4 separate regions of the Homo sapiens genome follow, and all the other regions are linked to region 1. Evidence: promoter capture Hi-C in 16 types of primary human blood cells and fetal thymus (Javierre and others, 2016). All regions are on one chromosome and are shown on one strand. The core of a region is centred on a gene start or on the middle of the fragment in contact, and the rest is flanking DNA. Distances in the headings are between cores, read along the strand shown. Region 1 holds the start of HINT3 (histidine triad nucleotide binding protein 3). Region 2 overlaps MTCL3 (MTCL family member 3). Region 3 overlaps RNF146 (ring finger protein 146). Region 4 overlaps ECHDC1 (ethylmalonyl-CoA decarboxylase 1).

What was found. The method cuts DNA at HindIII sites, captures the fragments that hold promoters and counts their contacts. A CHiCAGO score of 5 or more calls a contact.
Region 2: a contact is called between a fragment that was not itself captured here and the fragment with the promoter of HINT3 in region 1, in 7 of 17 cell types (total CD8 T cells, non-activated CD4 T cells, naive CD8 T cells and 4 more). The highest score is 9.7, in total CD8 T cells.
Region 3: a contact is called between a fragment that was not itself captured here and the fragment with the promoter of HINT3 in region 1, in 3 of 17 cell types (naive CD8 T cells, naive B cells and erythroblasts). The highest score is 7.2, in naive CD8 T cells.
Region 4: a fragment that was not itself captured here is called in contact with the fragment with the promoter of HINT3 in region 1 in 1 of 17 cell types (total B cells); the score reaches 9.3 in total B cells.

What each region holds. Positions count from the first base shown.
Region 1 is chr6:125,954,811-125,958,023 of GRCh38, reverse strand. HINT3 (histidine triad nucleotide binding protein 3) reads right to left here and starts at 1,254. Exons shown (of 5, transcript NM_138571.5): 1 at 846-1,254. The coding sequence starts at 1,046. RefSeq lists enhancers at 32-81, 1,142-1,241 and a silencer at 752-971. The HindIII fragment of the contact is 9,214 bases long and covers 1-3,213 here.
Region 2 is chr6:127,515,632-127,518,954 of GRCh38, reverse strand. MTCL3 (MTCL family member 3) reads left to right here. Exons shown (of 7, transcript NM_001400265.1): 1 at 1-376; 2 at 2,253-3,323. The coding sequence starts at 2,341. It overlaps SOGA3-KIAA0408 (SOGA3-KIAA0408 readthrough), which reads left to right. Exons shown (of 13, transcript NR_174482.1): 1 at 1-376; 2 at 2,253-3,323. Among named protein-coding and RNA genes, the nearest start is that of MTCL3, 2.0 kb to the left of the region's middle. RefSeq lists a silencer at 2,707-2,936. The HindIII fragment of the contact is 242 bases long and covers 1,917-2,158 here.
Region 3 is chr6:127,282,421-127,285,645 of GRCh38, reverse strand. The region is part of intron 2 of RNF146 (ring finger protein 146); the gene reads right to left. Among named protein-coding and RNA genes, the nearest start is that of RNF146, 17 kb to the right of the region's middle. The HindIII fragment of the contact is 1,288 bases long and covers 916-2,203 here.
Region 4 is chr6:127,298,818-127,301,956 of GRCh38, reverse strand. The region is part of intron 5 of ECHDC1 (ethylmalonyl-CoA decarboxylase 1); the gene reads left to right. Among named protein-coding and RNA genes, the nearest start is that of RNF146, 34 kb to the right of the region's middle. The HindIII fragment of the contact is 1,869 bases long and covers 476-2,344 here.

The DNA of each region.
Region 1 (3,213 bases), core at 5-2,504:
ACCTCCTCTGTATACATTCCGCCCTTTAGATTGTAAAATCGGGACACAGACTGTCCCTTATCTTGCTCAAAAACCTCCAAAACAAGGTGCTTAGAAGGAATTATATTTATTTTTTAAAAAATAAAGGAATGTTTACTACAAAAGACACAATCTTTGGAGCTAATTCTCTCAAAAAGTTGTTTCTATATGGACAAGTAAAACCAACAGAATAAAGTGTGTGCCAGATTATCCGTTTAAAAATATCTGGGCAAAGTCTTCATGCTCTGAAAATGTCCACGCATCCCAACTGACAGTGGAATTCAGAGGCAATTCAATAATAGTTTGACCTCAGACCCACTCCCTCCAGCCTATTTTCTGCCAATCTAACAAACAGCTTTCCACAATTATCATTACCTATTTTCTACTAGTTTTCTCATCAGTATCGGTATTAGAGTGTGCAGGATTTAAAATCAGTATCTTGAAGGTGGAGAAGAATCCTTGTAATAAAAGCAGAGGCCACAAAATGTTATTTGTACCAACTACCTGGGTACCTGCAAACATAGGCCAAAGCATTCGGCCCTGTCATTCACTCTTTGCCCCTGGGAACAGCAAAGATACCGCTGGAGCCACTGCCTGTCAGTCCCCTAGGAGTGAGTCTGTCATCAGCACCCGGACCCTGCAGAAAGGCCCGTAGTGGGCGTATCCCCAGCTTCCCCGAGCCCCATCCACACAGAGCGGCCCTGCCTCTGCGAGCTGAGTAGCGATCGGGATCCTCTGCACCCGCTCCACAACGGCGAGGCCTCCCTGCCGGAGCTCCGAGGGGCGGCCAGGTCCTCACCCACCCCCGGCCGCGCGTCGCCGCCCACCTCGCAGTGCAGGAGTTCGGTGCCCGGGTCCTGCCGCCCCGCGATCCGGCAGAACACGCAGGTGCTGTCGTAGTCCTTGGGCTCTGGTGACTTGCCAGCGGCTTCACAGGTCCCCACTGAGGAAACCGTAGTTTCTGCAGTCGCCGAGGCCTCACAGTCGGGGGCCAGGCCGGCGCTGCGGTTCACCTGTTCCTCCGCCATTGCACCCGCCCCTCGCGGCCTAGAGCCTCGGCCTCTCCAGGGCTACCGGGCCCGCGCAGTCTCCGCGTCCCGCACCTCCTCCGTTTTACCTCGAGACGTCGCCCCTCGCCTGACGCTGGGCGGTGATCCAGGCTTTGGGGAGAGGGAAGGAGACGCGGTGAGGAACTTCAAAGCCGGAGGCCGGCCTCAAAACCGGCTGCCACTAGAGGGCGCGCAATGGCGCTGCCGAGAGTCGTCCTGACCCCTGCGCCTCGTTGGTAATGACGCACGACGTCTGCCAAGTCGCAGAGCGCCCAGCGCGTCGTGGTGACATCACAGAGGCGCGGGAGCGTTTGACATAATGGAGCTTGTTGGGTGTTCTGGACAGGCGTTCTTCAAAGCCCATAGTATAGCGTGTCCAAATATTGTATTACGCTGCCGTTTTTTTAAAAAAAAAAACAAAAAGTTTTTTAAAGTTTGATTTTTAAAATTCGTAGGTTTTTAAAGAATGAGCAAAATTCCTAAAGCCTTGTTTTCAACAGACATCATGTTTGCTGCTTTTTCAGCCACGATAATTGTAGGAGTTTAAACTCAAAATGTCCAAAACTGACCTTTACATCTCTGTTGACTTTTTATTGTTGTTAACAGCACAGTTAGATCAAACTAGCGACCTTTTTTTTAATCTCACATTCCTCATATACAAGTAGATGTGGAGTCCTATAGTCAATACTCTGAAATATCCCAGAAATTCAATGCCAGTGCCTCATAATGCCTCACCTAGACCAACGCAATCACCTTCTAACTTACTTATTGATTTTCCTGTCACTCAGACAAAACCTTCTGTAACTATGTGCTCAAAGAAAAAGTACCAGTTCCTTAGCTTGGTGTTCAAGGTGGACTCTGATTTGACCTCAGCTTTTCGTTTTGTGATACTTCCCACTTGCTGAGCATCTAAAACATGCCATATATTTCTCTAATTGTCAAAAAACGCAAGGTTGGTTTTATAACCACCGCTCTAGAGATGAAGGACCAAACTCAGAGTTGCCCAGTCCCACACAACTAATTAATAGTGACAGAGTTTAAGATCAAGGTTTGTCTAACTCCAAAACCCACCAACCTTTTTGACATACAGCACTCCTTTTTTAACACCAAAAAATTTGTTGGACTAGCTCACTATAGTAGTTACACCCTTGGTATTTGCTGATTTAGAAAATACATAACAAATTGGGAATTCAGTAATGATTTTTAATGGATTTATGTTGTAATAAAAAGTGGTTGTATGTGTTTTGAATTGTTGTACATATACATTCAAGACATTTTTCATTCCTTTTTGTAGTTGGCCCGTAGTTTGGGGAACCACTACAATAGCTTCACTGCCTTTCAGCACCCCAAAGCAGAGTTCAGAATCAATACATTAGAGTTTTGCCAAATTTTAGTATTCACAATTTCCATGCCTGTACTACACCTTCACATCACTGCTTTTATTCACACAGTTCTCTCTCAAATATTCTTGTTTCCATCTCTTCACTCCAAATTCTACCTTCCAAGCCACCCCTCCAATGCTACCTCCTTCATGAAATTTTCTTTAGCCAAACTGACATAAGCACATCCTCTTGCAAATTCATATAACAGGTTTTCAATATTTCTCTTGTAGGATTTGTCTCTTTGTATCTTATAGCTATTTATGTACTTATTTATCCTGCTAGGAATTATGTTTCTTGGCAACAAGATTGGGTGTGTGAATCTTCCATAATGCCTAGTACAGTTGGAACAGGAATTAAAGAATATGTAAGCAAAAACTCAGTTGTATGTAAGAAAACCCAGTTCCCCCTGAGGAGGAGAAAGAGGTAGAGTCCTTTAAAAATTAACTGCCTGTTTTTCTATCTGTGGCTAGTGAGCCTTATCTCTCCCTTTCCCAGGCATTGTGAAGACCCTGTTTCTCTAGCTGTGCAGCTGCAAAGTCACTAGACAGATAAACTCAAGTCATAAAATATGTTTTTCCTTGAAAAGTAAGAAATTATGTAATGCATATCTCAATTAAATAACTGTCATTTTTCTTACTTCTGTAATATGCTTCCCCCTGCACAGATCTCCCCCCAACTGCCCCCTGCCCACGAAATGCTTAAAAGGTAACCTGACCCTTTGTTCGGGGCTCAGCGGATGTTAATCTGACTGTGCCGGTGCACCT
Region 2 (3,323 bases), core at 788-3,287, 1.6 Mb before region 1:
TCCTGCCCAGTTCGGTGAGGTCAGCTCATGAACATCTCTGCACTTCCTGGGGAGCGTCTGGCCCAGCTTGGTACCTCGCGTGTTAGCCTGCTGAGAGCTGCAGCTCCAGCCCAGCCGCGGACCGCCGGGAAGTCACCCGCTCTGGGGGCAGCTGAATCTTGACGTTACCGCCATTGTTTGGAGAAATCGAGTGGGTGTGGAACTGCGGCGAGCGAGCCCAAAGTCATGCTCAGCCGGAAAGTCGCATACAATAATATGAAGTTGAACTTTCCTCGGCGCAGAAAGGCACAATAATAAACCCTGAGATCCCCGGAATATCAGAAGGAAAGTGCTGTTGATTTGTTCAGCTACTTGGAAACCTCGCCTCTGCTGAGAAGTGAGCAAGTTCTGGATTTCTAAAGGGTTGGGGATGAATGATGGGGTGGGTTAGCAGGCGGATAAAACTTGAGATTAAAAGTGTTGGTCTAAGCCGTGCAGGGGTTGGTTGGGTGATAATTTTCACCGGGAAAGCCTTGAAGAGATGCAGCATCTTGTCACTTTGTGGGAACCACGTGACAGCAGCCGGATACCTTTGATTGTGGAGCCCAGTTACTGGAACACAAGCTTTCGCCTGGGTTAATGCTGTCTGAGGGCTGAGTTTAAACATTGGCTTCTCAGCTCTGGAATTATTCTGCCTGATTAAAAACAAAAATAAGTTTGCATTGGCAATATAAGTTAGTTAGATAGCCCATGTTAGTGCCACCCATGATGATAAACTAGGCCAGACATTCTAGTAGTATCGCGACTGGGAGAGAAGATGTAGAAAACAAGTTGGTGGGCAATTTTCCCCCGATGTCTTCTTTGTTCACCTTTATATTTCAAAGTGAGTTGGAAGGAGATGCCAGAAACAGAAAGGGAGGTGGATTAGGAACCCTTCGGTAATATTTCTTTATAAAATGAGGAATTACTGCATGCTAAGTTGTGATGCTAACAATAGATGTTAACAAGAATAATGCAAGTAAAATAACTGGCAGTAAAGTAATCTGCTCTCTGTATAGAACAAATATTTTTAAAGGAGAAATTTATGCCTAGTCATGCCCCTTTCAGTGCTTTAGACAGAAATAATTTTAAGGAAAAGGCAACTAATTGACTAGCTGCCTGGATCCCTAGGGAGAGGAACCCATGAGGCAGTAACTTGCTATTTTTCAGATTAAAGAAGCTAGTGACGGATTTATCTTGGAAATACACATACTGGAAATTGATCTTACCACCATGAGGGAAGATGCACCAGCCTTCTGGGTTCTGTCTCAGAATTGCTATATAGGAGGAAATGGGCACTTTAAAAAGTACAACTTTTGCCTATGATATGCGATGTAAGAAGATGGCTAAGAATGAAAATATTTTCTATCTAGCAATTACACTTAAAACTAAAGTGATTCATAAGACTACAAAACTGGGTAAGCATAGGAAAATTCATCACCAGAAACTTAGGAAACTGCAGAACTGACCACAACTTTTCCAAATGTATTTTAAAAATTATTTCCCAAAAGGGAAAAAATACGTTTTTGGGTTGCTAATAACTAACCCATATAGACAATTCTTAATGCTATTATTTTCTTGAAACTGAGATTGATTTAAAGGCATTCATTATTTATATTTTCTTTTAGTTCTATTATAAAGGAAGTTGGGTGCATTTTCCCAAAAACAACATTAAGGGTTGGAGCTGCCTGGGGAAAGTGTCATTTATCCGTAGAAAATATTCTCTAGGAACCCTACATCATAACCCTTTTCCTCTAATTGAACTTGGGAATACTAATTAAATGAAAACTTTCTCCAGTAAACTAGGCTTTACATATGGATTTGATGGTAAGGAAAGCCAAAGTTGTAAAAGCAGAGTTGACAACTCTAATATATGGATATCTTTTCTTTCTGAAGCTTCTTTTCCACTTTATCCTCTTTTCTTTTATATCTCCCTTTCCATCAATTCCTGTCTGACTCTGTATCTCACCCTTTCCAAAGCCTGCTACCATGAGAATGTAAGGTTCAGCTGCTTTCAGATCCGTCATTTTGCTGAGGTGGAGTGAGATGGAGACAGCGCCACCCTGGGCAAAATGAGAATTGACAGCCCTCCATCCTATTCCTAAAGACAGCCCTGCATCCTATTCCTAAAGTCAAAGCTTCTATTAAGCGCCATCCAAATGGAGCAATATCACCCTTTGCTCTGCAAAAATTCAGACATGTTGTCTTCTTCTCTCCTTTTGTTTCTGTCCCAGCTTAGGAAGGAAGGTTGGCGGCGGTGAAGAGGGAAGAGGATGATCTAGTAATGGGCTCTTCCAAATCGCATCTGGTAGGTTCATAGCCATGAGTCAGCCACCAATCGGGGGCGCTGCCCCTGCCACAGCAGCAGCTTCTCCCGCCGCTGCAGCCACTGAGGCTCGTCTGCACCCGGAGGGCAGCAGCAGAAAGCAGCAGCGAGCTCAGTCACCCGCTAGACCGAGGGACAGTTCGCTGCGACAGACAATCGCGGCCACCCGGTCCCCAGTGGGGGCCGGCACTAAACTCAATTCTGTTCGGCAGCAGCAGCTGCAGCAGCAGCAACAGCAGGGTAACAAGACCGGGAGCCGCACGGGGCCGCCCGCCAGCATCCGAGGAGGCGGAGGTGGGGCCGAGAAGGCGACGCCCCTGGCGCCCAAAGGGGCCGCTCCGGGAGCTGTCCAGCCTGTGGCTGGTGCTGAAGCGGCCCCCGCCGCGACCCTGGCCGCTTTGGGCGGCAGGAGGCCCGGACCGCCCGAGGAGCCGCCTCGGGAGCTAGAGTCCGTGCCCTCGAAACTCGGGGAACCCCCTCCGCTCGGAGAAGGGGGAGGAGGGGGCGGGGAAGGAGGAGGAGCCGGCGGCGGCTCCGGGGAAAGGGAGGGGGGCGCTCCGCAGCCGCCGCCGCCCAGGGGCTGGCGAGGGAAAGGCGTACGCGCTCAGCAGAGGGGCGGCAGCGGCGGGGAGGGGGCCTCCCCTTCTCCATCCTCCTCTTCTGCGGGCAAAACCCCAGGAACCGGCAGCAGAAACTCCGGAAGCGGCGTTGCGGGGGGCGGCAGCGGTGGTGGAGGGAGCTACTGGAAAGAAGGATGTCTGCAGTCTGAGCTCATCCAGTTCCATCTCAAGAAGGAGCGGGCGGCAGCGGCGGCGGCCGCGGCTCAGATGCACGCTAAGAACGGCGGCGGCAGCAGTAGCCGCAGCTCCCCGGTGTCTGGCCCCCCTGCCGTTTGCGAGACCCTGGCCGTCGCCTCCGCCTCCCCAATGGCGGCGGCGGCGGAGGGCCCCCAGCAGAGCGCAGAGGGCAGCGCGAGCGG
Region 3 (3,225 bases), core at 310-2,809, 1.3 Mb before region 1:
AGGAGATGAAGGTGTAAAGGTAATCAAAAGTTAAGTCATGAAAGCCTTATTGTGTTATTGTGCCCTGCCAAGGAAACATCTAATTTTTTTCCCCATGGTAAAAAAAAAAAAAAAAAGACATTTTAAAAGGGGAGAAAATAATGGAGTAAACCACTGATAAGTAAAAAAGACTGAGAAATAAAGATGAAGATGTCAGAGATTGAAAGCTTAAAATGAATGACAATCTCTCTGCCAGCTAATTCTGCCATTCTAAATGGGTCAGTAGTTACAAAAGATATAGTCAACAAGAATGCTTACGCTCATCAAAAATTGAAAAACAATAATCCTAGGCTATCATCACAGCACATTCAATCTTCAAACAATCCTTTTTTTTCTTTTTACTGCCTTTTCTGTGTTCTTGGTTCCTCAATAGACAAGGCTCAAAAAGATGGCAATTTTCTAGTAAAGGAAGCAACACAGTAAGTTTTTAAAAAGATGGCACATATCTAGTAAAGGAACCAACACAGTCTCAATGGAAGAACTGATCACTAAAATGTTTAATTTCCAAATTATTTTCAACTTTTAATAACATTTCCAATCAATTCCTTTACCAGAAATTCTAGGTTATAGACATCAAGAAAGTACAACTTTCTCCTAACCTATGGAAAGTTCTAAGTCAGGGGTGTCTAATCTTTTGGTTTCCCTGGGCCACACTGGAAGAAAAAGAATTGTCTTGGGCCACACATAAAATGCATTAACACTAATGATAGCTGATAAGCTAAAAAAAAAAATCACATAATGTTTTAAGAAAGCTTATGAATTTGTGTTAGGCCGCTTTCAAAGCCATCCTGGGCCACATGTGGCCCACAAGTTGGATAAGCTTGTTCTAAGTAAACCCTAATAGGACGTCTTAGTATGTTAAGCACTATAAAAGCTTTCAAATATTTTGAGATAAACACTTGCCTTCAAAGATCTTGTAACTTGAAACAACAATAAGTTACAAAAGAAGGCATATGTTTTTAAAATAGCCAATTACACATTCCCTGCCTATTTCCTCCCCTAAAAGAATTGGCTGTGCACACATTTTGTTAGGTTTTCAGAAACTTTCATCCCTTTCGATTTAGGTCAAAAAAGTTAGTTTCCATAAAATTCCTGAAAATCTTTTTGTTCCAAGTTCCATATTTATTTAAAGCTCCAATTAAGAAAAAGAAAACAAGAAAGTGATCCATTTACAAGTAATAATTTAAGAAAGATTCTACTCATGATTCTATTCATGAGACTAAATAGAAAAATGGGCTGATGACCACCATTACTTTGGAAAAACAACAGCAACATCTTCATATAAGAAGTCTACATCTTAAACCATCTAAGTACCTTATGAACAAAGGACAGGATCATAAACTGAAAACATAAATAAAAACAGAGTCTGGTAAAATGAAAACAAGACACCCAACATGTCACGTGGACCAATGCCATGCTTTTAAATACATAATTCCAAACCTATTGTATTTGCTTTAAGTAAAATGGGCCCAAGAAGTCAGTTTTCCATCACATACAGCTCGTTTATCTACAGAAAAAAAAGTTTCCAACCTAAAAACATTATCCTCCACCCTACTTAATATGATTAATATTTTGCATGACTCTTACTCTTGCATTTATGAATAAACCAAAACACATAATTTCAAAACTAAGAAAGCAATTACAATCATCCCAGGAGAAGGCATGAATTATAATAACATAATTGGAAAGGCAAAACAATCCTGTTTGTGCAGGTATTTTGGTTCCATCATCAGAATGAAGTGAAGTTGGACAAAGTTAATCTGCAAACAATGGACACCAGACAGCTAAATGGTCATTATTTCATCTGAAGCACTCTTAACTATCAATTTGCCATAGCAATTTATAAATTCTGATTCTGTTTAGCCCATCAAGTATACTGTTAGTCTATCACCAACTAACAAATGGGCAGAAAAACTTAGTGATATTTCTTATTTAATTCTGAATGAGGCACATGCAATAAGTAAGATAGAGATAAAATGTGTAACAAGATAGACACAAAGTAACCCCAAACTGCTAGTCTACCTATAAGACATACTTCAAGGCTTTTTAAAAAACCATTTTAATCTACCCTACACAGTCTCTGTTTTGCAGTTCCAATGATCTTAAAATAGGTGGGAGACTAAATGTATGCAGATGATCATACCAATATGTAAATAAGAAAGCTTTTCCCCTCCCTTTGTGTAGAGCAAGTATTAATGCTAATCAAAAGAGGTATTCCCTATCTCATAAATGTCTCAGAAAATTCTAATTTTGAAAAAGGGAATTTATTTCCAGTTTACTAAACTAAGAATTTAATACACAGAAATTTGGAGTGACGTTAGTCCAATTCTATTAATAAGTATAATACATCATTTACTTTCAAAGACGTTTTTACTGAATTCTTCATGTGATATTCCAACTTTTAAGTATAAATCCCCTTCTTCCAATAGATAAACCATGTGAAATATTTCTGCCAGACTAATAAGAGTCTATTAATACTAAGTCTTCTTCTCAAGAAGACAAAATATAGAGGGGTATGGGCAGAGTTAGTGGAAATCTCCAAGAACTCAGATTTCCTTGAAACTTCTTGGACAACTAGTCAAATGAAAGGCAAAATTATTATAAGCAAAAAAGATCTTTAGTATGTGTAGTATTCAAGAAATTTTTAGCTTGCAATAAAAACTCCAAATATTAAAAATCAGATTTTTAAAGTCTGAATTTAGAATCCAATTACAGACACACAAAAAGGGAACAATCCTACATATAATTTCAAGGGGCTTAAGGATTTCTATGAAGCTGGTCCACATATGAACCACTAATGAGACAAGAGGAGTTCACTGAAAGGTTTTACGTCAGGAAATAACAGCCAGTTTAGTAGCTTCCAGACCATTTGAACAGCAGGTTGGAGGAAAGTTTGGTAATGCAGGAGGAGGTATGGCGAAAGGGAAACTAGAATATCCAGGTAGTAATGCAAGTATAAGATAATTAGAGGGAGGTTGCTGATGTAAGTTTCCAACAATAGAATAGAAGAATGCTAAGGAAAAAGAAATGAAAGCATTTGATTACTGATGGATGGTGACACATTCACCAAAATTCAGAATTTGAGGAGAGTTCTGTCTCAGACATAATGACTTTATTAAGGTCTCCAGGTGGAGATAGGTAGATGACAGCTGAATTTACTAGTTTGATACTCCAAGAATAAATCTG
Region 4 (3,139 bases), core at 161-2,660, 1.3 Mb before region 1:
TCTGAAAGTGGTGTCTGTTTATTAAACATATTTCAGCACCCACATGTGCTAGGCACAGCCATTCACAAACCTTGTGTCTTGGTTTTTTGTTTCATTTTTCTAGTAATATGTTTTTGTTATATTTTACAAAATTATTGGTCTGCAATCGATTAGAAAGTTTCTTTAAAAATGAAGAAGAAATTGATCCTTGACCAGAGAAATTTGACAAGCACTGTCCTAGGCTACTCAGCCCTTTTAAAACCCGCATACCAAAAGCAACTATAGTTCTTAAATGTTAGAGGCTAATAGAGAGGATTGCATACTGAATGAACTACATTACTAGCCCCAGTTTCCAGGAAGTGATAAATCAGTACAAGTTCCTCTAGCTGATTTTTTCCACTTAATTTTATCAGTACCTCATCAGTTACTTTCTATGACAGATTATTTTAATTATTTCCTAAGAATGTCTGCTTGTTCTAAAAAAACACCGAAAGCTTTCATAGCGTTTGCTAAAAAGATAAGTTCCTTCTTTATATGTGTTGGCCCTTTTCGCTTGTTTAACTTTCTTACCTTGGAGAATTGCCTGGAATTCACTCAACTGACATTTTCATCCATGCCAATGGAAGTACTTCAGCAGATGGAGATACACTTAATATGAATATATAAAAGAAATGAACTCATGTAGCATTCTAACACTGTCCCCTTCCCGCAAAACCCTGTGAGCACCAGCTGGTAATAGATGTAATGTATACGTATGTCGGAAACACTCAGTTCTACTTTGCATAGATAGACCCTCACTTGAGTCATACTTTTCATGTAAAATATTCCAAGAGAAAATGGCTTTTAAAAAACATTTTTAAAAGTAAAAGACTAACATGAATTAAAAATTGGTATTTTTCAATGGTCAGAATCTAGTCAAGCATTATGTTTCCATTTTAGTGACAAAATTAATGTGAGGAAATGAAAAGCTAGAAATGTGGTAATATAGCCTCTCATTTTTTAATCCACCTTGACAAATTAAAGATATTTAGAATGAAATATAAATTAAGAAAATGCTAATACATGTAGTTTTCTATTGCTGCTATAACAAACTACCACAAATTCTGTGGCTTAAAACAACACGTTATTATCTCACAGATGTATAGGTCTGAAGTCTAGCTGGGCTCAGCTGGTTTTTCTAAACCTTGTCTCATGAGACCAAAATCTAAGTGTCAGTTGCAGTGGGCTCTGAAGACTCTAGGGGAGGATTCATTCCCAGGCTCACCCAGGTTCCAACTGGTAGAATTTGGTTACATGCACTTGAAGGACTGAAGTCCCTGTTTCCTTGCTGCCAGATGGGGGATGAGTCTTTGCTCCTAGATGCTTTCTGAATTCTTTCTCATGCTTTCCATGTGGCTCCTCCAGCAGTGGTGAGTCAAGTTCCTCTCATACTTTGAATCTCTCTTATTTATCCTTATGCTGCATTTCTCTGACTACAGCTGGAAACATTTCTCTGCTTTTAAGTGTTCTCATGATTAGATTGGGTCCACTCAGTTAATCCAGGATAATTTTCCTATTTTAAGGATTTAACTTTAGTTACATCTGCAGTCTCTTTTGCCATGTATGGTAACACATGCACAGTTGCCAGAGATTAGGTCATCTCTTCGGGGCCAATCTACCTACCACGTATGGGCTTGGCATAGGGAATTTAATTGTCAGATTTGTTGCTAACTTTTATATTTCTGTTTGATTGCCAGTGAAAAGTGCTAACTTTGTTACTCTAAGTTAATTTTGTAAACTGTATTTTTATTTTTTTAAATGCTTGCTTAGATGCTTTTTAGAAAACAGTAATAGTACCCACATACAGTCATGTATTGCTTAATGATAGGAACACATTATGACAAATGTGTCATTACGTGATTTTGTTGTTGTGCAGACATCATAGTATGTAGCTAAACAAACCTAATGATACCATCTAGGGTGCAGCTTACTACATACCTCGGCTATATGGTATAGCTTATTGCTCCTAGGCTACAAACCTGTAAAGCCTGTTACTGTATTGAATACTATAGGCAGTTGTAACACAATGGTAAGTATTTGTGTATCTAAATGAAAAGGTACAGTAAAAATACTGTATAAAAGATAAAAAATTGAATGCTCATATAGGGTATTTATGGTGAATCGAGCTTGCAGGACTGAAAGTCTCTCTGGGTAAGTGAGTGAGTGAGTGGCAAGTGAATGTGAAGGCCTAGGACATTACTGTACACTTAGAATGTACTCCTTTTACTTTTACACATAAAAAATTAAATGTAAACAGCCTCAGGCAGGTCCTTCAGAAGAAATTCCAGAAGACAGTATTAACTGTAACTTTTGTACTATATAAGCTTTTTAATTTTAAAAAACTTTTTTATTCTTTTGTAATAGCACTTCATGTAAAACACAAACACATTTTACAGCTGAACGAAAGTATTTTCTTTTTTTATATCCTTATTCTATAAGCTTTTTCTATTTTTATTTTATTCATCTTTTTTAAAAGTTTTTTTTTTTTTTTATTAAAAGCTAAGACAAACACACACATTAGCCTAGGCCTACATAGAGTCAGGATCATCCATATCATTGTCCTACCCCTCCACATATATCATTGTCCTACCCCTCCACATCTTACCCCACTGGAACATCTTCAGGGGCAGTAACATGCATGGAGCTGTGATCTCCTATGATAATAATGCTGTCTTCTGGAATTCCTCCTGAAGGACCTGCCTGAGGCTATTTTACATTTAATTTTCTACATATAAAAGTAAAATAACACTCTAAAATAACATAAAAAGTATAGGTCAGCTGTGGTGGCTTATGCCTGCAATCCCAGCATTTTGGAAGGCCAAGGCAGGAGGATTGCTTGAGCTCAGGAGTTGGAGACCAGCCTGGGCAACATAGTGAGACACAAAAAATAAAAAAAATAGCCAGGCATGGTGGCACACGCCTGTAGTCCCATTCCTGAGGGAGGATGAGGCAGGAGGATCGCTTGAGGCCAGGAGGTCAAGGCTGCATTGAGCCATTATGGCACCACTGCACTCCAGCCTGCGGGACAGAGTGAGACCCTTTCTCAAAAAAAAAAAAAATATAGTACAGTAAATACCCGAACCATTAACATGGTCATTTATTATTATCAAGTATTATGTAA